Linked DNA regions of Homo sapiens: all the other regions are linked to region 1. The links are contacts of gene promoters, found by promoter capture Hi-C in blood cells and fetal thymus (Javierre and others, 2016). All regions are on one chromosome and are shown on one strand. The core of a region is centred on a gene start or on the middle of the fragment in contact, and the rest is flanking DNA. Distances in the headings are between cores, read along the strand shown. Region 1 holds the start of GALC (galactosylceramidase). Region 2 overlaps LINC02328 (long intergenic non-protein coding RNA 2328). Region 3 overlaps FLRT2 (fibronectin leucine rich transmembrane protein 2). Region 4 has its middle 8.5 kb from the start of CALM1. Region 5 overlaps CALM1 (calmodulin 1).

Region 1 (4,717 bases), core at 2,046-4,545:
ACACCTGTTATTTAAGAGAAAAATCATCGTGTTTCCTTTGGCAGCACATTTACAAACACTGGAATGTTACAGAGATCAGTGTGGCCTCTGAGCAAGGATGACATGCAAATTCTTGAAGTGTTTCAGATTAAAAAGACAGAGAGAGAAACACTGTCATTACTTTTTAAACTCATTTAAAATCTGAAAACTGGGACCTTCCTTTCTTACCGTCTTATCTCACTGACCCTGATCCACAGACGCAAGGGAAGCTAAGCATATGATCACTCGTGGGGTAACTGTCATTTTTCTTTATCTCACATCTTGAGCACATTTGAGTGCCGTGCCCAGCACTCCAAGGATTTCTGTCAGCATGTATTTATTGGCCTTTTATTAGAAACTTTCTTACCTCATGTCTGCTCTCATGAATATAGATCAGAAATTAGAAACAAAAAATATTTATCTGGTAAGCAATTTCTTTGGTAACTGAACTAATAGGAACTACTGGGACTTCCTGGAAGTGAGGCTACCTTTTCCATTAGAGTTTATGCTTCCTCTTTTGTAGACTTCACACATTGCTCAAATATTTGTGGCGTGCATTCCAACTACAAGGTGCAATTGAGGGACGAGAAAAGGGAAAACTTAGTTGGGCAGACAGCTAAAGTTGGTCTTTGGTAAAATTCTTTTAAACAGAAAGACAGCCTGAAAAATCAAGCTACAGGCACACATAGAGTGGCCTGGGGAAAACTCAGGCAACAGCTGCCCTGATAAGAAAGGAAGGCCCAACATAGAAGCCTTTTGTTCTTTGTGTGATTAGCAGGTTCCCAGGAAAAAGTTTCTTCCCCTTTTCAGGCACATACATGGTGGGCTCTGTGGGAACTTGCATGGGGGTGGAGAGGGTGATTACCTAGAACCCACAGTTACACAAACAAGAGAAGCTGAACTTTATCCTTACCCAAGACATACCCACAGCTGCACAGATAAGGGGAGCTGCACAGATAGCTTTACAAGTAAGTTACACAAACAGCTACAGAGATGAGAGGAGTTTCTTATAAAAGCTTTTGGATTCAACTGTAAAAGTGGCAAAATGGCAAAGAAAGAAAGCTTTCTTCTTTCATATAATAAACTTTCTCTTCAACCTCACTCTGGTGTCCACACTCCTTAATTCTCTTGGTTGTGAGACAACAAGCTTGGATAACACCTCAGACAACGAGACCACTGACCACTGACCCGTTTCACAATGACGTACTACAGGATGGTGTATGCTGGGTATTCATACATCGTCATGCAACTTCCTAGTTTTATGTGTAAGGTAGTTTCCTCTGTCATCACCTTGGTATTTCCCATCTAGTCACGGTATTAAGTGGGTCTTATGCGCTTGTTAAGAGCTGGTAAGAGAAGCTTAACATTCACTTGATGGAATGGTTACTGTGGCTTGTATCCACAGGAGCTCCAGCTCATGCTTAAAATACTGTGTTAGAACAAATGGATCAGAGTGAATTCTGTAACAGTAAATCCACAGAACTGAAAATTACTGACTTGCATCATAAACTGGTTGCAGTGGCAAGGCAGAGAGTTCAGATTCGTGTTGTACTGGGGAAAGAAGAAACCAAAGAAAATAAGTGGTTCATACACAGGGGACTATTTAACTGATCCAAGCCAGAAGACTACTGAGGGTGAAAGGAGCATTATCAGTAATTATGTTTAGACAAAAGTTGTGACTGTCCTTAGTAAACCAGGATAGACGTAGAGTCAATTCAAAAAGAAAGAAAGAACAAACATATCTAATGTACATTAAGAACCCAGGGATATCGGGTTCTTAATGTGCATATTTATTGGATTGCCCAGAGCTTTGACCTTCAAGTATAATTGAGTTCTTGAAACTTAGATTTAGGTTTGTGGTTAAGGGGCAAAATAATCAGATTCCAAATAGGGTTCTGCAGACAAATCCCACAGGTCCTAAAGTCTCTGGGTCTTTTCCTTGCCATTGTGGTATCTCAGGGGCTTGTGTAGGCAATGATAACCAGTTCCATACTTCTGCTAAGAGAAATTTGGGGATCAGAAAATCTTTCTCTGCAGCTCTTCAGAGTCTCTTTAATTTACTTCAATAACAAGGAAATCAGAAATCTCAGGACAGTGCTGGATGTGGCAGAAATTCAGGGCAATTCACAACTTTCCTACCAATTTAGAGTTACCTGTCTGGAATCACTTCAACTGACAGTGGAAGATAGTTTATAAAATTGTAGGGGAGGCAAAATTTCACCTTCGTCCCTGTAGGGTCCCAGCATGGCCCTAGTATTAAATTGATTTAAGATATTAATAGACTGACAGGAGACAACCACACAAATGTTTATTTTACATAGCACGGGGGCCCTCATTAAAAAAAAAAAAGACCTAAAGCAGCAGTTAAGAGCCAATTGCTTATAGAGTGAAATGGACAAAAAATAGTAGTTGTGAAACATGATAAGGCGAAGGGGCTTGGGGTAAAGAAGCGACTAGAAAGATAGGGATTAACAAATTTTGTTTGGACAGATTTCCCTCGACTTCAACTTTCTGTCCTTGAAGATAACAATGTTATTTTATAGGGAAGACATCTTTCACATGGGAATTTCATCTCCTCCTTTTAAGACACATAATATCCATGACAGTGATCTTGCACCTGCTGTTTTTAAGTGCCTTTAATTTAAAATAGTCAATATGCCACAGCAGCATATTTTGAGGTGGTATATTATTAACTCCTTCAAGGCTAAAAGCTTTGAATATGCCGGGGTAGTTACCAGACTGGAGAACCTTCTCAGCTATTTGCCACTTGTGGAATGCATTCAAATGTACTGAGTGCTTATTAACTTTTCTCTCAGTCCCTCACTCTGCTGCTCTTCTCGCCTCATCTCACATAAGGGAAAACTCAGGCTCCAAAAGCAAAGTGATTCCACCAAGATGACAATGGAATCGGGACCTGGTGTCCAAGCCTGGTCCTCGCACGAGGTAGATACTCCCTGAGATGCTGGGGAAGAGCCATGGTAGGGCCACTCATGGCCCTCTTCCTTTGGCGGACCTTGGAATCCACCTTCCCTGCGTTAAAGTGCTCCACCAGGTGACGCCGGAAGAGAAGCCAGCAGTAAGTACATGTGAAATCCAGTAGCTGACCACAGACACGCGAGCGATAAGAAAAAGCTCGCTGCTTCTTTTCTCAACACTCCGCCAGCTGCGTCAGAGGCCCTTGACCCGCACTCAAAATGGCGGCGGCGGCGTCAGCATCAGCGGCCTCCTGCCCGTATCTATCGTGGCGGCGACGGGACCCGCCTCCCTGGGCGCCGGAGTCATGTGACCCACACAATGGCTGAGTGGCTACTCTCGGCTTCCTGGCAACGCCGAGCGAAAGCTATGACTGCGGCCGCGGGTTCGGCGGGCCGCGCCGCGGTGCCCTTGCTGCTGTGTGCGCTGCTGGCGCCCGGCGGCGCGTACGTGCTCGACGACTCCGACGGGCTGGGCCGGGAGTTCGACGGCATCGGCGCGGTCAGCGGCGGCGGGGTGAGCGGCAAGCTGCGGGGATACGCGGGGGGCGGCAAGAGCCCGCCCCGTGGGGCCAGCCCCACAAGCCCCCGCGGCGTTGCCCTGCGTTTCCACCGGCTCCACTCTCCGCCGCATTCCCCTAGGGTGCCAGTCAGCAGGCGGTTGGGGCGGGCCCGCTGCGGGGCTGGGGCGGGTGCTTTCTCGTTTAACACGAACCAGACAGGCAGTTAGGTTTGAACAAATGAGGATCCGGAGGTCCAGAGAGTATAGGTGCAGAGAGTAAAGTGACAGGTCTAAGTAGTGAAGTAGCCGGGGCTGGAACCCTCGTCCCAGGCAGTGGGGCACAGGCTGTCTTCATCGCGGAGATGGCAGTCGGGGAGCGTCGCTCCAGAAAGGGCCAGGGAGTGCGGGAGCGTCCGTGTGCGAAAGAGAACGCCCCAGTGGGATGCTTTGGCTGTGTCTCTCCCTTTTGGAGGAGTTGGTGGGTGGTGGAGTCGTTAAGTCCCGTGCAGTTGTTAGTGCAGGGTAAGAATGGGCTCCTCCAGAGAGGGTAGCGCCGAATAGGATTTCGTTTGGAGGCAGGACTGGTGCCTCAAGGTCTCTTTAAAAGGAAGATAAGCGAGCGGCCTGAAACTACCGGGTACTCCCTCTGGGCCCATGGGCTTCATGGTGGCCGACCTTTGGGTGAGAAGGTTTTTGTTTTTTGGTTTTGTATCCGAAATTACATCTAGGGCTAATGTTTCTTGAAAATGTTAAGGTTGAACTCGGATTTTTGGGGTTGAGTTGGATGGAGCTTGCATCCTTACATTCAACTCAGAACAAGCTTGAATGCCTGCTGCAAGGATGACCTGGTCTGTAGTGTGACCACAAGATATAACCTTCTGCTAGGGGAAATTTTTTTCCCCCTGGAGTTAGCTGATCCTTTTTGATTTTTATGTTTTCATTCCCTAATTTGCAATCTCTCCAGCCGTGCTGATGTGTATTTCAGGGGAAACCTGTGGGCCGATGAGTTAATGCATTTATTCTTTGCTACTACTATTCTCCTTTTTATGTTTTTGGGCTAAACCTGAAACAGCCAATATTTCATGGAGTGAGGCCCCATCTTTTTTATAGCTTTACTTGTGATACTATATCTAGGGTAAGAGCTTACCGAAAAATGGAAGTCTTTGTTTCCATTAGGTTTATTAAGCCCAGTTTAAAATTACTAAGATGAGAAGAATCATTTCGT
Region 2 (4,500 bases), core at 1,566-4,065, 2.1 Mb after region 1:
TAGAGACAGGGTTTCACCATGTTGGTCAGGCTGGACTCGAACTCCTGACCCCGTGATCTGCCCGCCTCAGCCTCCCGAAGTGTTGAGATTACAGGTGTGAGCTACCACGCCTAGCCAAGATTCAATATTCTTAAGATGACAATTCTTCCAAACTCTCTCAAGTGATTCAATTGAATCTCAAAGAAAATCTTAGTACACTATTTTGGAGATATTGATAAGCTGATTCTAAAGTTTTATTGGGGTTCAGAAAATGACAACCCAAAATATGGCAGTTTGGCATGCTGAGTGCTTTGAAAAAAAAAATGTTGAAAGGCCTCAGAAATAAGCCTCAGGACCATGGCCTCTCTTTAATCTCTGCCCCCCCTTACCCCTTCCTTTATTGAAGCCTCAGGAAAACCCTTCTCTCAAGTTCCCTTATCTGATTAAAAAAGTTCCTCCAGAAGTCATGAAATTGTCTTAAAACACACTTCCTAGAAATTTCAACAGAAAACAGGGAAAGATTAACCACTGGAGAAGAGACTAGATCTGAAGTCATCACCACGCTCAGAGAGATTTTTCATCTAGACTTCTGAGGGAAGCTCCAAGAGATTACCAGGGACACTATCTGCATAATAAGACAAATTTTGTTCATGGTGAACATCTCATCACCTTCTCATAACTTGCCACCACCTCGCCCAGATCTCAAAAGAACTTTGTCTTTTTTTAGGCTAATTCATTTCTCTAAACATCATTGCCTATACTCTAAATTGCCTGCACTCCCATCTCCCTCTCCCCTATGAAGAGTGTTATTTAAGCTGCAGCCATCTGGCCCTTCTTTGAGACTCATATTTTCCATGGCTCCCATGCTTCTGCACATTAATAGAGTTATATGACTTTCTTTTGTTAATCTATCTATTGTCAGTTTTTTTCAGCAGCAAATCCTCAGAGAGCAGAAGAGAAGCTTTCCTTTTGCCTCTATAGGAAAAATTAAAAGGCAGAAGATCCAGAATAACCAACACAATCCTGCAGGAACAGAGGAATAATGTTGAGGATTCACACTATCTTATTTTAAGACTTACTGTAAAGCTACAATGATTAAGACCACATAGCATTGACCTCACCTCACCAAAAAAAAACCACATAGATCAGTGGAACAAAACAGAGAGCCTATAAATAGGCCCAAACATATATTCAAATGAATTTATAACTTCCCATTGGGTTCATCTTGCCCACTGCCTAGACAGGGCCAATTTACCAAGACAGGGGAATTACAATAGAGAAAAAGTAATTCACGCAGAGCCAGCTGTGCAGGAGACCAGAGCTTTATTACTACTCAAATCAGTCTCCCTGAGCATTCAGGGATCAGATGTTTTAAGGACAACTTGGTAGGCGGGGGGAAGCCAGTGAGCCAAGAGTGCTGATTGGTCAGGAAGGGGATAAAATCATAGGGAATTGAAGCTGTCCTCTTGGGCCAAGTCAGTTCCTGGCTGGAGCCACAAGATCAGATGAGCCAGTTAATTGATCTGGGTGGTGCCAGCTGATCCATCAAGGGGAGGGTCTGCAAATTTATCTCAATCACTGATCTTAAGAGCAGATTAGGGTTTTTTTGTTTTTTTTTTTTTTTTTTTTTCTGAGACCAAGTCTCACTCTGTCGCCCAGGCTGGAGTGCAGTGGCACGATCTTGGCTCACCACAAGCTCCACCTCCTGGGTTCACACCATTCTCCTGTCTCAGCCTCCCGAGTAGCTGGGACTACAGGTGCCTGCCGCCACACCCGGCTAATTTTTTTTTTTTTTTGTATTTTTAGTAGAGATGGGGTTTCACCATGTTAGCCAGGGTGGTCTCGATCTCCTGACCTCATGATCCACCCGCCTGGCCTCCCAAAGTGCTGGGATTACAGGCATGAGCCACCGCACCCAGCCCATAATTTCTAATCTTGTGGCTAATTTGTTAGTCCTACAAAGGCAGTCTAGTCCCCAGGCAAGAAGGAGGTTTGTCTGGGGAAAGGGCTGTTATTGTTTTTGTTTTAAACTATAAACTAAGTTCCTCCCAAAGTTAGTTCAGCCTACACCGAGGAATGAACAAGGACAGCTTGGAGGTTAGAAGAAAATGGAGTTGGTTAGGTCAAATATCTTTCACTGTCTCAGTTATAATTTTGCAATGGTAGTTTCCATTTTTCCCAAAGATTCAAAGTCAAGTCGATGAAGCAAATGTTGACATTTTAAACAAATAGTGCTGAAACAATTGGATACTCAAATTAAAACAAAAAGAACCTAGCACATATTCTACAGCTTTCACAAAAATTAAGTTGAAATTGATCAAGTACCTAACTTTAAAATGAAAAACTATAAAACATCTAAAAGAAAAAGAAAAGAGAAAATCTATGGAATCTTAGATTTGTCGATGAGTTTTTAAATACAGCACCAAAAGCACAATACATGAAAAAAAAGTAAGACTTTATTAGAATTATAAACATCTGCTCTTTGAGAAATATTAAGAGAGTTAAAGGACAAGCCATAGAATGAGAAAAAAATATTTGTGAAACACATATCTGGTAAAAAAAAAAAAAAGATAGAAAAAATAAAAATAATACATCCAAAATATACAGAGTGATGCTTAAAACTCAAGAATAAAATACAACTCAATTAAAAAGTAAGCAAAAGTTCTAAACAGATACCACCATATATATGGCAAATAAGTACATGTAAAGATGCTCAACATTGGTTGTCATTAGGTATATAAAAATTAAAATAATAATGAGATAACATTGTACATGTATTAAGAGGGCTAAAAACCAAAATATGCTAATACTAAATACTGGTTAGGATGAGGAGCAACAAGAACTCTCATTCATCACCGGAGAAAATGCAGAATGGTACAACCACTCTGATGGATAACTTAGCAGTTTCTAACAAAGCTAAACATATTTTTACCTTGTAATCCAGCAGCTGGGTTCTTAGATATTTACCTAGATGATTTGAGAAATTTTAACTACAGAAAACTTTCACATGAATGTTTATAGAATTTTATAAAATTATCACCAAAAACTGAAAGCTATCAAGATGTTCTTCAACACAGAAATGAATAAACTCTGGTATATCCATACAATGAAATACTATTCAGAGATAGGAAAGAATGAGCTATCAAGCTGTACAAGGACATAGATGATTCTTAAATGTGTATTGCTAAATGAAAGAAGCCAGCATGAAAGGACTGCTGCATACTGCATGATTATATTACATTCTGGAAAAAGCAAACTTATAGAGAGGGTAAAGATATCATTTGAAAGCAGCCTGGGCAAGATGGCAAGACCCTGGCTCTACAAAAAAAATTAAAAATTAGCTGGGCATGGTGGTGCACACCTGTAGTCCCAGCTACTTGGGAGGCTGAGGCAGGAGGATCCTTTGAGCCCAGGAAGTAAAGGTGGCAGTGAGCCATATATATGGTGCCACTGCACTCCAGACTGGGAAACGAAGCAAGACCCTGTCTCTAAAAATGAAAAAATAAAGAAAATAAAGATATCAGTGGTTTCTAGAGGTTCACAGACACAGATTTGAGTAGGTGAAGCACAAGAGATTGCCTAGAGTGGTGAAACTATTCTGTATGATACTGCAATGGTGGATAGATGATATTATGCATTTATCAAAACCCATAAAAGTCTAGAGCACAAAAACTTAACCGTAATGTATGAAAATTTTTAAAAAATTATTTAGGAGGTTAGGAGATCCCAGATACAAGGTAAACTGTGACTATACAACCATCCAATCTTCAACAAGGCCAACAAAAACAAGCAACAAGGAAAGGACACTCTATTCAATAAATGGTGCTGGGATAACTGGTTAGTATGCAGAAGATTGAAACTGGATCCCTACCTTTCACCAGATACAAAAATTAACTGAGGATGAATTAAAGACTCAAATGTACGCTCTCAAACTATAAAAATCCTAGGAAATATCCTTCTCAACACTGGCCTTGGCAAAGAAAATTTGGCTAAGTCCCCAAAAACAATTGCAGCAAAAACAAAAATTGACAAGTGGGACCTAATTAAAGAGCTGCTGCACAGCAAAAGAAACTACCAATAGAGTAAACAGAAAACCTACAGAATGTGAGAAAATATTTGCAAACTATGCATCCAACAAATGCCTAATATCCAGAATCTGTAAGGAACTTACAACAAGCAAAAAACAGAATACATTAAAAAATGGGCAAAGGACATGTACAGACACTTCTTAAAAGAAGACATACAAGCGGCCAACGAACATGAAAGAATGCTTGTCATCACTAATCATCAGGGAAATGCAAATCAAAACCACAATGCTATATCATCTTAAACCAGTTACAATGGCTATTACTCTACAGTCAAAAAACAACATATGCTGGCGAGTCTAGAGAAAAAGGAACATTTATACACTGTTGGTGAGAATGAAAATTAGTTCAGCCACTATAAAAAGCAGTTTGGAGACTTTTCAGAGAACTTAAAACAGAGGTACCATTCAACTCAGCAGTCCCACTGAGACGAGAA
Region 3 (4,369 bases), core at 705-3,204, 2.4 Mb after region 1:
CAGAAAATTATAGAAATATATAGTAAAAACTATATATATATATAGTTGGATATATATGTATATATCTCCAACCTACACAGAATCTTATAAAATGAGGTCCTTTCTGCTAGCCGCTACTTAACAACACTCAAAATTAGGTGCTGTCATCCTAAATTAATAATAAAAACAGCTAGATATGTAATCCATACAAGGACTATATTAGTCCATAAGATAGACTAATTATTATTCCCATTATACATATTATAGTAATGATTATAATGGCAATAGCTATGGTTTACTGAGTGCCTAACTACGTACCAGGCACCTTATTTGAGATGTCTTCATTTAATTCACACAGTAGGATTATAAGGTCGATGCTCCAGTTACTCCCATTACACAGATGAAGAAACTGATCCCAGAGAGGATAAATAATGCACCCAAAATCTATGCTAATAAATGCTAGGATTTAAACTCTGACTGGCCTAATTCTAGACTTCTTGACCACTTTGCCACAATGCCTCAAACAAACACTAAGTACAAATCACAATCAATTAGTAGTATTGAAAAAGACCTCTAAGAGTTATTGAACAAGTAATTTCTACCTCTTCCTTAGGGTCTCCATTCAAGCTTTCCGTCACTTTCACAGAGGTTCCTAAATTGAAACAAACCACAACTACACCCTGCATGCATATACAAACACATATATCATATAATCACAAGGTTGTATTTCATATGTATCAGAATAATGCTCATATGGCTACTCAACAGAATTCTATCAACGCTCCATTTGTTTTTGCTTTACCATCAATCTACAGGATCTAAGAGCAGGATCTACATATGGATTCAACCTCCTATATCACACAGATTGTAGAGTGGTAGTTAACATTATGTAAGCACCTCCCATTGTTAGTGGTACTGTTCCATGCCCCTCACTGTATGGAAAGATAAAAGTTAATACCAAACTGCATTCATGTTTACAGACACAGCTGTCAACCAGAGTCAGGATTTCATCCTTTCAAAGGCTAAGTAAGACCCAAGTTGAAATGAAATGACATAGAATCACATGTGTCACATGTCCTAACTGTGGGTGGAAAGATCTTAAGAAATAACACTACAAAATGATTCCAAACCTTACACCAAGCTTTACTCAAATGAAACGTGGGTCAAGAACTTTGGGGCACCAATCTCATAAGCCCCATAAATAAATACACATTTTCCCTGAATAAAAATAAATAATTTCATTATATACAATCCATTTCTATAAATTTAAAATAATACTGTAAAACAAACTTTGTAAGAATGTATATAATGTTACTACTTTATAGAGATAATTTAATCTTTTATTCCAGAAGAAAATGGAAGTCTCCATTCTGGAGTCAACTTCTAACATTAATATTCTTTTACTTGTGCTATGAAGGCCCACGAAGACTCAGGCTGTGAACCTAGGGGAAGGGAACAACCGCCATATTGCTCCAAGAAGTGGAGATGTGGTAGTTTTCTAAACTGTTTGAACTAGGACTCAATGGTAGCATCCAACAATTCTTTTCCTTTCTTTGACCACTAAATATAGAGGTCAGTCTTCTCTGGGGGTAAGTGGTATCCTGTTATGAGCCACGTGAAGCCAAGGGCTTGTCATTCAGAGCACTGCTTGCTCTGTTCTAAAATCTGGAAGACTCAAGGACTGCTGCTGCCCTCGACCATCTTCAAACAAATGGGAAGCTAATTTGCATAAGCCTCATTTCCATTTTATTCATCCTCTGCCCAAATCTAGATCAGAATGTTTTAATACCATCCCACTGTGGGCGGTCGCGCAAATTTCAAGGGTATCTGTGGTCAACAATTAGAAGGCATGGGTTTCAGAGTTGAGTTTATGTTAGAAATTAAAAGCCGAAATAAGCGAATGCCTGTTGCAAGATAAAGAATAAGAAAAACAAAAAGGCCAGCTAATATATAAAACATGAAAGAAACCTGAATCATCACTATGGACTTCTCATCTAATCTCTTCGGATTAGCCAGAACGCCACTATTTTTGGAATGCCTAGGATGTACACCAGGTACTTTACTTGCATTTCCACATTTATTCTTTAAAAGCACCTAGATAAATGAGGGATTTCTTTTTTTACTCCTTGATATATAAGTAAAACCCCAGAGGAAAAAGAAAATCAAAAGGCAGGCATTTTTCTCAATCCGCTAGAAACACAGGAACGCTTGCTCTACACCCATTTCCTTTCCTCACCAGCCCACATGACCTGGCTTCTGCTGACTGTTTTCTGATGATAGCTCATCATATAGCAGGAATATGTCCTAATAAGTGTACACAAGAAACTTCAGCAATTCACTCCACTTTTGGGTGTTTTCTTCTCTTTGAACATTAAACAGACTAAGACAAACCGTTAACTTTAACGAAACTCTATTAAGGTTTATGAACCAGATTTTTAGGTATGTGTGAATACTATTTTCTAAAAATAAATTGCCTCGATGCCATCATAAAGGTATTATAATAAAGGGGCATGCATGCACTCGCACATATATGAACACAAACTTCTTTTGCAAATGTAATCCCATTAAAAAGGAAAAACAAAATTACTTCTGAAAACTTCTGAAAATCCCATTAAAAAGGAAAAACAAAATTACTTCTGAAAACTGCAAAAATCTTGCAACACCAACAGTACCTTCCCTGGCTCATTAATTCTGGCCTAAATTTGCTACTGTCAGGCAAACCAGGCACACTGTCCAGCAGACACCCACCTGCTATTAGGCTGAATGTGCCTGGCATCTTGACATTCTATTGATTCCAATCCAAAGCTTATGTAAAAAAGGCAGCTCAGAGTCCAAAAGGAATTTCAGCCACAAATACTTTGGGAGAAATCCAAGCAACTAAAAACAGAAAGAAAGACAAGATGCAAATCTGAGTGACAAAACTGAGACAACCCAAGCCAGACTGGAGAATGTTCAAGGACAAATCTCCAAATGACCCAGGCATCAACCCCTTTGGATAACCACTTATTTAAAAAAAAAAAAAAAAAAAAAAATTCTAATACCCTGTGCATGGAATGACCACCCCTGACCCAATCTAGAGTATTGGTGGATATATTCACAAAGAAGTATTCACTAGTATCCCAGTGGCATCGCTTTTAAAGACAGCCCTGTCATTTTTGCCCTGTAAGCCCTTATTACATATTCAGTAGAAACTTGCCATCTCATAAATACAGTCTTGATAATGACAAAGAATTCAAATTATTAATCAGTTAAAATGAACCAGAAACTATGTAAAGTGCTTAAGAATATCAGTGTTTGCATCTTCAAAACAACCCCATGGGCTAAGAATTTTATTTCCATTTTATAGATACGGAAAATTGGGGTTCTGAGAGGCAAATTAATTTGCTCCAAGTGGCTGGAAAACGAGATACTAGAAAAGAGAGGACAACAGGATTCATTTATAAATTTTCCGACACTTTCCAGCCCTTCCCCACCCCTCCCAAATAACCTAAGCATAAATGAAATGGGTTTATGTCCAATTTCCAAATCCTGGTACTTGTGGCTTTGGTGGCGGCTACTTGTCACAGTTAACTCTGTATGAATAAGCTGGCTCCAGAGGGTTCTTTAAAGCCAGACCAATTCCCCCGGTCTTTATTTTAGCCAAGAGAAGACACACATTTCAAAATAAAAATAAATACATAAAAAGGAAGGAGAAGGAGAAACCCATAATCCCAGTAAGCAGCATAGATTGCATCTGGGCCTGGTTCCCCCACTCCAGCCTCCCACTCTCACCAGCCCACTGCACAGCTCCCACTGACTTCAAAGGCAGCTCCCGGGGGAAGGAGAAACAAAAGTCCAACAGGGCTGGCAGAAAGGAGGACCTTATCCAGAAGGGAGGGTGGGAGAGGAACAGAGATTCACTGCAGACACCAGTCGTCTCAAAACAAGAATTCAAAGTGTTTTCCCAAAGCTGATTTCTATCAGGGGTGCTGGGGTGGATCAGAAGGTTGAGACTCCAACTGGGAGAGATGTGTTTCTGCTGCTCAAATATTTCCCAAGTTTGCAAGACATCTCCAGCCTTTGGAGTGCCTTCTGGTTTGAGGAGCAGGGATGGCCATCCAGGTCTCAATGAGACTCAGTTAACTCCTCTCATGACAAGGCAGCCATATTTCACCATCCAGTAGAGCTGCCTGTGATTTTTTTGTGTGTGCATTTATTCAATTTGAAGCAATACTCCTTTGGTGAAAGAATGCCCCCTGGGTTGAGGTACGTAAAGTAAATATGCGGAAAAAATCAGAAAGTTCCTTAAAAGAGGTTTATTATATCACTCAACCCGTATCTCCCCACGATGCTACGATGACTATTTTCTTTGCCTGTGTCAGGGTTGAAAGCTTTGTCCTGAGGTCAGGCC
Region 4 (4,359 bases), core at 297-2,796, 2.4 Mb before region 1:
ACAGCTATTCAGTTGAGGGATATGTGGCCACAGCGATAAACTGAAATGGCAGGGTTTTGGGGTGACTCAGTTTGCCTGTAGAGCAGAACCAGTGATTGGCACAAATGGGTACTGTTGCTGAGGTCTTGATACACGGAAAACCAGACCATAATGATAAATCAGGTAAATTGATGCTGATTGTGGGTTATATTAAAGAATTGGCCCCACCAATTCCAACAGACTTAAGATCTAATTTGGCAACTGTGTGGTTTGGTTTTCAATCAATAAATAGCCTCTGTCCTGCCTTCTAGAGCTGTGCTGCCCAATCCAGTAGTCACTAATCACATGTGGCTATTTAAATCAAACTTAATTAAAATTTAAAATTGAGTTCCTCAGTCTTTATAGCCACATTTCAAGTGCTCAATAGGCCCATATGGCTAGTGGTTACCATATTGGGCAGCATGGAACATTTCCATCATTCCAATAAGTTACATCAGATAGCTCCATTCTAGAAATTTTAAAAAAGGAAGTATCTGTGTTTGCCTGGATCAGGAATGTTGAGGATCCCAAAATTTCTAATAGCACATCCATGATCTTTGTCTATCCCAATGAGCTTGTCCCCTTCTGATCCATCCAATGCACAGCTGCCAGCAGTTTCATCATGTCACTCCCATGCTCAAAAACCCTCAATGCCTCCCAATGCCTTTCAACAGTTTGCCAATCTACTTTTTCAGCATTACCATCCTTTGTTATTCTATACATTCTTTGCTTCAGACAAATCAGTATCGTCTCTGTCCCCTGAATATACATTGTCTCCTCTCAACTCATTGCCTTTTCCATGCCATTCCTAGTGTCCAAATGCCTATCCATATCCTCACCACCTATCTAAATCCTACGGGTCCTTCATGCCCAGTTTAAATGCAACATGTTTCAAACTTTCCTGATTATCACAACTCCAAATGAACTTCCTCTCCGCTGAATTCCTACCCCTCTTGTCCTTTTCTACCTGATATTATCGTTTCATATATCTAACATCAACCAGATAGTAGTAGAAGCCAAGATATACTTTTTGAACTCAGCATAGCATTTGACTCATTAAACACCAGTCAACTATTTAATTGATTAGTGTTGAGCTCAATTCACTCTCAGGACTGAAGAGGATATTAAAAGTGAATTTCTCAAAATACAAAAGGAAAAGAAAGTCCTTTGCTTTAATTCTGAAAGCAAGGTGGGAGGCCACACCTCCTGAGGAACATCCTGAACTATCCCTGCTTTGATCCCAACCTGTATCCTTCTACAGTCACGAGCAAGCGTATACCTTGGCTGACCCATCCTTTGGCAATTTTCTTCAGACTTTCACATAACTGGATCCATCCTCTGCTTCCTATAATGGAGAAAATATGGTCAAAGGGAAGTTGTCTTTGAACAGAAAAACCACCTCCATCTGAATCTAGTGAAGATGCTTATTGAGTTTTATTCATTCTAAGTTGAGGCTCTGAGTCATTGGCTAATAAACCAACTCCAGGCATCACAACGGGATGATTGAATCATTTGGCCACTGAAAAGATGTACCTTCAGGAGTGTTTTCAAGTTGTACAACTGAGTATCAGTGTGTCACCTTCCTTCTCATTCTCATTCTCATAAACCAAAAAGCATAGACAGAAAATTTGTCTTATTTTGATGAAGGGTTACTCAAGGCTTTGTTATTTTCATTGTTTTGACAAAGCAAATAGCTTTTTCCCAAGAAGAGGACCATATTGCTGCATCTCATTTGCTAGGTTAAATGGCTGATTCGTTGGCCACTTAGCCAGGCAGACTCAGCTATCTCATCTGTAACATTAGTGTAATAAACAAACCCTAGGGAAATATACGATGTGGTTGCGTATAATATTTAAAATATCATTGTGCTAAATGGCAATGGGTGGGTCAGAAATCCATTCAGAACCCAGGTCAGGGGGTCTGACTTAGTCTGCGGAAGGGCTCAGCAGTGGGAAGATCCAACTCGGTCTCCCATCATTTGGCAGCACCCCCAACAGGTTGGTACTCAGGGCACTGAGCCCTCAGCCGCCTCACCCTCCACCAGTCCCATGCAATTCTGCTGAGTCATCACTGTCTTCCACAGCAGCCCAAGAGATTTGTGACTCAGAGAACTGATTTGTAGTTTCATGTTTCACTGCTCCAGCTCTTCCCTGCCACACGAAGGTTCACAGTTGCACCTGTTTCCCACAAAGTTTGAAACTTAGGAAATGACCTTAAAACTGAATAGCAGCAAAACATATGAGCCATATTTTAAATGGTCTGCTGACACGGAGATTCTACTAGAGGCATTTCTGATTTTCAAGTCCTAAAGAAGGGGAAAGAACTGAGAAAAGGTATTCTGCGCTTTGTACCTGTGGGAACTTTATTTTTATTTTTTAATTTTTTATACAGATTCAATTGAGACCTGTGGGAACCTTTGCATATGGGAATACTTCGTGGTTTGAGCACACATTTCAAACTGTGTTCCGTATGGTGACACCATAGGCTCCCACCGAGCCATTCTGACTTTCGAAACTTGTATGCTGTGAATATTTGCTAGACGGCCAGCTGGGTTAGGGGGTTAGGATACTGCTGAAGCCTTGGAACAAGTTTCTCTTTCTGTGAAAGAGCACCATGCTCTAAACAAGTCCAATCATACTGTTTTAACCACCTGAAGAAAAGAAATCAAAATTTTAGAAAGCAGCCTAAAAGTCACATAATGGGAAATAAAGACATAAACATTATTCCTTTTTTATGCAGAACAAAGAGTTTATTATAAATGTTCTTCATGAAAAAAAAAACCCTTAGCAAACTGGGCTAGAAAGGATTTATTTTTTATAGATTTAAAGGGTACATTTTTGTTACATGTATATATTGCACAGTGGTGGAGTCTGGGCTTTTAGTGTGACTGTCACCTGAGTAGTATACGATGTACCCAACAGGTAATTTCTCATCCCTCACTGCCCTCCCACTTTGTGGAGTCTCCAGTGTCTATTATTCCACTCTGTATGTCCATGAATATGATTATTTTTTATTAGCACTTTGCAACACCCTAAAAATACCTCAGAACTTTATGAAATAATTAGAATTGTGCAGCCACATTCCTTTTTATGCATCACTCATCTAAAAAAATAAGCTTCTCTGAGCTCTTCTGGGAATAAGAAAGGGAAATGCTGCTAGCCTAAAGAAGACAGAAGAAATTATGATACAGTTTCACAAGGGGAAAGTGTCAGCAATTTAAATGAAGGTCAAAGATTTAAGGCAAGCGGTTTAGATAAGGCCTAGCACAGAGAACAATTCAGAACAGCCAGTCCCTAAATGGATAACAAAGTCCAAAGCAAAGCCTCCCAAGATTTTCCACAGTCACTTGGAAGCCCTGTGAATGATAACATTCCTCTACTCCCCTTATTATGATTGTTCTTTGATTAAAATGTTTTCAAAGGTCAAAGGAAAGAGCAGTCTAAAAGCCTGCTCTTTCCCTAACTAGTCCCTTCTCGGGACTTAGTTTTCTTATCTGGAAAATGTAAAAGTTAGACCAGATGGACTTTCTCTGGTTCTTCCCAGATTTAGAATTTCATGATTCTAAATATTCTTGCTTGTGAATTTTGTGAGGAACTTGTGCGGAATTCCCTAGTAACCAGGAGACTCTTAGAGATGTGGATGTATATACATCTGAGGTCACAGTGGACTTGTCTCAAGAGTTACAACTTTTTAGAAGTGTTAAAAATCTGCCTGGCATGGCAGCTCACGCCTGTAATCACAGCCCTTTGGGAGGCCAAGACGGGTGGATCACTTGAGGCTAGGAGTTCGAGACCAGCCTGACCAACGTGGTGAAACTCCATCTCTACAAAAAATACAAAAATTAGCTAGGTGTGGTGGCACACGCCTGTAGTCCCAGCTACTCCAGAGGCTGAGGCACGAGAATCACTTGAACCCGGAAGGCAGAGATTGCAGTGAGCCAAGATCACGCCACTGCACTCCAGCCTGAGTGACAGAATGAGACTATCTCAAAAAAAAAAAAAAAAATGTTAAGAATCATTATAGAATTCTGACTTTGTCAAATGGTACTCATATAAAATACTTAGGACAGACTAGACCATGCCTACTCAGATTGACTGATCGATTGTGACATTTACTTCCAAAAATTGCCCCCACCAAAAAAAAAGGAAGGACAAAAAAGAAAAAAATCCAAGGCCGGGTAGAAGACATCATCTCTTTCCAAAGACCAGAAAAGCAACAATAGATCAGGAAAGTGAGCAATTTTGTTTGAGTGAGTCAGATAGGTTTTTTAAAAGTCATTTTCTTCTAAATCCTTGTATTCTTCAAAGAATGTAACAGAATACATACAAAGGAGAGCTTGGA
Region 5 (4,889 bases), core at 334-2,833, 2.4 Mb before region 1:
ACTCGGGAGGCTGAGGCAGGAGAATGGTGTGAACCTGGGAGGCGGAGCTTGCAGTGAGTGGAGATCAGGCCACTGCACTCCAGCCTGAGCGACAGAGCAAGACTCCATCTCAAAAAAATAAAAATAAAAATGGGAATGGGCTGTTAATTAACTTCTTGTCATTGAAAGGGAGAAAGCCCAAGTTCTGCCTTGTGGAAACAGGATTAGATGTCCAGTGTTAGAAGTATTCCAAGTTTGAGAATCACCAGATATGGATACCTGCACTCAGAGGAAGTTTTACCTATATGACCTGTTCCTTTTAACTAAGATATGATTTTATAATTACTTTTTTACTTATTTTCCATTTTTAAAACAATCTATCTCAAATCTTGATTCTGATATGTCTATGCAGGAAAAAATCTATCTTTTGCTAAAAAATGCAGTAACTTAAAAAAAATCACAACTTGAAGGGTATACAAAGACTCAAAATGAAAAATCAGTTTAAAAGCAAACATGCTTACATACAGCCAGGATCTAAAGATCTTGTTGTAACAAAATGTTCAAATAATTATATTGCTAGAGGAAACTCTGGATTTTCCTTTTAGCCTTTGTAAAACTGAAAATAAAACTAAGATATGATATTGAAAAGACTATCTGGGGCTGGGTACAGTGACTCATGCCTATAATCCCAGCACTTTGGGAGGCCAAGGCGGACAGATGACCTGAGGTCAGGAGTTCAAAACCAGCCTCGCCAACATAGTGAAACTCCGTCTCTATTAAAAATACAAAAATTAGCCAGACGTGGTGGTGTGCGCCTGTAGTCCCAGCTACTCAGGAGGCTGAGGCAGGAGAATTGCTTGAACCCAGGAGGCGAAGGTTGCAGTGAGCCAAGATCACACCACTGCACTCCAGCCTGAGTGACAGAGCAAGACTCTGTCTCAAAAAAAAAAAAAAAAAAAAAAAAAAATTATCTGAGCCAAGGCACAGTGGCTCACACTTGTAATCCCAACACTTTGGGAGGCCAAGGTGGGAGGATTTGTTGAGCCCAGGAGTTTGAGACCAGCCTAAGCAACATGTGAAACCGCGTCTGCATAAAAAAATTTAAAAATTAGCTGAGCACAGCAGCACATCCCTGTAGTCCCAGCTACTGGGGGGGCTGAGGTGGGAGGATCATTTGAACCTGGGAGGTGGAGGCTGCAGTGAGCTGTGATTGTGCCACTGCACTCCAGCCTGAGTGAGAATGAGACCCCACCTCAAAAGAGAAAAAAAAAACCCCACAATCTGAATGTGTCAATTCACACTCATTCCTAAGGTTCCTGACACAAAGAACATAATTCTCATGAGGAAAACTGCCACTTGATTTAATCAGAGTTCAGGGGCTTTAATGGGAGTTCTGGTCCATGAGCTAACTCCTCCCACTCCTTGGCAGAGAGTTGAGGGCAGTGGGAGAGAAGCACCAAGCTATAAAAAGCTTTATGTTTTATTTCCTTCTAAGGCATCCTGAGTCATTGGGTGCTCCAGCCCCCCAGTGCCCGGGAAAGTTCAGCTTGAATCGGAAATGTGTGTGTGTTTTTCTAAACCGGAGCTGCTGAAAACCAGATGATGTCACTTGGACTGAATCCCTTACAGGCCCAGTGGTAGCCTCCTATTTCCGTCCTGGGAGAATGGAAGTCACTTAACAATCAGTTTCTCTGACCCAGGTTCCAATATTACATCACGTCTTAATAGCAAGCTTAACCTCCACTCCACCTCCAACATGAAGCTGGTGAGAATTTTTAAATCCCATTTGTCATCTCAAAGGACACAGCACTCCTACACAATTTTGCCTCCCATCCTTTAGGCTGCAATTTCATCTATCTAAACACAAAGTGATGCCAAACCAGGTCGGTCATAATCCTAGAAAGCCACAGGCAGAAGGTACCAAGTCCAATATGATCTTACCAAGGAGGATACCAAGGCCTGGGAAAGGTAAAGAACCTGCCTGAGGCTGGAGGGACAGAACCAAATCCAGAAGCCAGGTCTAAAGCCTCAGAGCAGAGGGCCGTCTCCACGGTGATGACCATGTCCTTATAGTCCCAGCTCCTATGTGCAGGAGGGGCTCTTTAAATGCTTTCTGGAGATGTGTCTCAAGCCTTCTGTCGAAAGCAGGGCCTTATCCCGCCCCGCTTTTCAGCCCTCTCACTCCTTCTGGGCAGAGTGGGAAACACACGAGGCAGCTGGAAAAGGCCTTTCTGGAAGCAAAGGGGGCAGAAGCAGGCAGCCTCTCCTGCTACATCTAAGAACCAGGGTCTGGGCCAGTGTTGACTAAGGGGAAGGCTTCAATGCCAAGGTCCTAAATTGTACTTGCATCCCACCCCACTTTCCTCAGCTGTCCCGCTCTTGACATGAACCAAGGTATCATCTTGGTTGTCATCTAAAATTCCCATCTTATTGAAAAAAATGTATTTCTTTATACAAGTCCTAAAGAGGCTTGGATTGGGGTTAAAAGGAAACTAATCCTTATGGTGTAAATTTTCCGCATAAAAAGCAAGCATGGACAAGTTAATAGGCTAAGAGAATAGGTTAAAATGTCAGCTATTAACACTCAAACTACTTAAAACTAGGGTAAGACGGTTGTGGGATGTGTCTACGGTTATTTCTGGCCCCTCACTCTCACAGTACTAGAGACCCAGTGAAATTACATCTGAGGGCAGGTCTATCTTGTTGAGAGCAAAAGGAATTGAAAGCTATGCAAGCTAGAAACCTACACAGTTCGCAGTTAGAGATGAAAGGCTGCAGAAATGTTTATTGAATACAGTGCCAGGTTTATAAATAAAACGTATTTACAATTTCCATAGAGTTGGTCCCCCATCAGAGAGGTGGTTAAATCTCCAAACAGTTTATCTCAAGATTTACAGAAACGTCCAAGTACATCTCCTTTTCAAATAGCCATGGTGAAGGGCAACTTCAGTAACAAAAGAACTACCACCATCTTTGCTACAGAAGTGTTTAATAAACATCATAATAGATTTGGAGAAAGAACACACACTCCACCCATGCCACTACCTTCTTACTCCAAGGGATACAGACAGCAAAGAATTTCTGTCTCCTACAGGACAACTTCAGGGGATTAAAAAAACAGTAACTGCCAGCTGGAGGGATAGATTAAGACACATTAGTGGAAATCTAGTCACTGCCAAAGGAGAAATATATTTAGGATATACAATAAATAATTCAAATGCTTAAAATAATTGAATGAACGGAAGAGTAGACTTGACCAAATTTACATTCGTTGTTCAGGAAGAGATTCCCAGTATGCTGAGGGGTTCGTGGTAAGCTATTCCTCTGACGAGACACAGCAGCGCTGGGCCTACTGCACAGCCGTTCATTACAATATTGTTACAAGTACAATCAGACATGCATTTATAAAGAGAATATAAAAATATGTACAATAGCTCATTTTCAATGTGTGTAAGTTGCCGAAAGACACCAATGAAAGTGTGCAAAAATTCATTTGTCAAAAAATCAGAAAAAGCCTTCCTTGGCAACAGTGCATCAAAAGCCCATCTGAAATATCGAGATCCATTTGCCTCGCTCAACACCTACCCCAAACAGATGGAGAACAAAACTATGAAAGGGTTTGCCAAGTACTCAGCAGTTTCTTATGGCAAGTCTCAGGCTAAAGCAGGATGCCAGTTCAACTAATCACTTTATATATAAATATATGTATATATTTATAGAGTAGTTAGAAGTAGGGGCAAGAGTTTACAGGAAGGTCCTAACCAACTTCAAGGGCACTGCCAGGACACCCAGCTATTTCCTCTCACAAACTCATGCAGACTAACACCCAACGCCTGGGCTGGTCATCCCCCCAAATACCAGGGCGGAAGGCTACAGTGGATTCTGCCTCACCTCTGCTCAAAACTGGAACTCAGCATTCCCTGGAGGGGGAGGGTGTAGGGTTTCTGGTTCCCAGACAGGATCCTGGCCATACAAGAATCCTGTTTCAAAGGTAGTCTTTTAGGATACGCTGCAGGACCACTAAGAGTCCACCCAGCTTCTAAAGACTTGAGGGTTAGAAGGCTACATTTCGAAAAAACAAGTCAAATATCCCCCTCCAGCCCCCTTTGAAACTACCGAGAGGTCATCGACCACAGGCCTGAGACTGGGTCAGCAATCAGGCTCTTTGACCACCCCCTGCCACAAGAAATATCCAGGACATTAACTTACTCAAACCAGGAACCCTATCTCACCAGAAGAGAAACCCCAAGGTAACCTTAGGCATTCCTTTCAGATTCAGGTAATTACAAAAGCCAACCCTTAGCTCATAGTGTCAACATCTCCTCTACCAACCACCCAGCCCAAGGACCAGTAGCAGAAGCACATGGGCGATGTCTCCCCTCCACTGCTCTGACCCACCCCTCTGGCAGAAAATCTAACAAGCTACAAAATGCCAGAAAGACAGGGAGTAGGAGAAGGAGAAGCCAAGGGTCTCTATAAATCAGCCCTGAATGCACCCATTTGGCTGCCAAGAGCTTCTCACTGCCTTGCTAGCAGCCTGCCACTGTTCCCTGGCAAATTGAAACCACCCACGCAAACACTCAAAACCCCAATCTCCTTGCTAATAAGATACAACCAGTTAACACCGTGAAAAATGCACATCTCCAGCCTTCATTTCAAAAAAGAGCTCTGTACTAAATGCAATATGCTTTTAAAGGGGGTTTTACAGGGACCAATCTCAATGCAAAGACCAGTACCAGATGTCTGAGTTTTGGTTACAGGTTTATAATTAGACACAAAATTCACTCCACACTGGAGTTTTACTTTCAAGCTGGAAGCTAGCATTAGTTCTACTTGGGGGGAAAAAAGCAAAGTCAAGTCAACTTGGGAAAAAAAAAAAAAGGAGGAGGAGGCTAAGTATAATCATAAAT

The links. The method cuts DNA at HindIII sites, captures the fragments that hold promoters and counts their contacts. A CHiCAGO score of 5 or more calls a contact.
Region 2: a fragment that was not itself captured here is called in contact with the fragment with the promoter of GALC in region 1 in 5 of 17 cell types (activated CD4 T cells, total CD8 T cells, naive CD4 T cells and 2 more); the score reaches 9.9 in activated CD4 T cells.
Region 3: a contact is called between a fragment that was not itself captured here and the fragment with the promoter of GALC in region 1, in 1 of 17 cell types (M0 macrophages). The highest score is 5.7, in M0 macrophages.
Region 4: a contact is called between a fragment that was not itself captured here and the fragment with the promoter of GALC in region 1, in 2 of 17 cell types (total B cells and neutrophils). The highest score is 9.8, in total B cells.
Region 5: a contact is called between a fragment that was not itself captured here and the fragment with the promoter of GALC in region 1, in 1 of 17 cell types (total B cells). The highest score is 5.8, in total B cells.

The regions. Positions count from the first base shown.
Region 1 is chr14:87,991,760-87,996,476 of GRCh38, reverse strand. GALC (galactosylceramidase) reads left to right here and starts at 3,295. Exons shown (of 17, transcript NM_000153.4): 1 at 3,295-3,507. The coding sequence starts at 3,313. It also overlaps the pseudogene RNU6-835P. RefSeq lists enhancers at 2,958-3,287, 2,982-3,482 and a silencer at 3,438-3,627. The HindIII fragment of the contact is 1,583 bases long and covers 2,732-4,314 here.
Region 2 is chr14:85,934,830-85,939,329 of GRCh38, reverse strand. It overlaps LINC02328 (long intergenic non-protein coding RNA 2328), which reads right to left. Exons shown (of 4, transcript NR_110155.1): 1 at 4,469-4,500. Among named protein-coding and RNA genes, the nearest start is that of LINC02328, 2.4 kb to the right of the region's middle. The HindIII fragment of the contact is 3,745 bases long and covers 943-4,500 here.
Region 3 is chr14:85,578,568-85,582,936 of GRCh38, reverse strand. The region is part of intron 1 of FLRT2 (fibronectin leucine rich transmembrane protein 2); the gene reads right to left. Among named protein-coding and RNA genes, the nearest start is that of FLRT2-AS1, 49 kb to the right of the region's middle. The HindIII fragment of the contact is 1,664 bases long and covers 1,123-2,786 here.
Region 4 is chr14:90,386,360-90,390,718 of GRCh38, reverse strand. No RefSeq gene overlaps it. Among named protein-coding and RNA genes, the nearest start is that of CALM1, 8.5 kb to the left of the region's middle. The HindIII fragment of the contact is 3,178 bases long and covers 1-3,135 here.
Region 5 is chr14:90,406,117-90,411,005 of GRCh38, reverse strand. CALM1 (calmodulin 1) reads right to left here. Exons shown (of 6, transcript NM_006888.6): 6 at 2,738-4,889. Among named protein-coding and RNA genes, the nearest start is that of CALM1, 12 kb to the right of the region's middle. The HindIII fragment of the contact is 261 bases long and covers 1,453-1,713 here.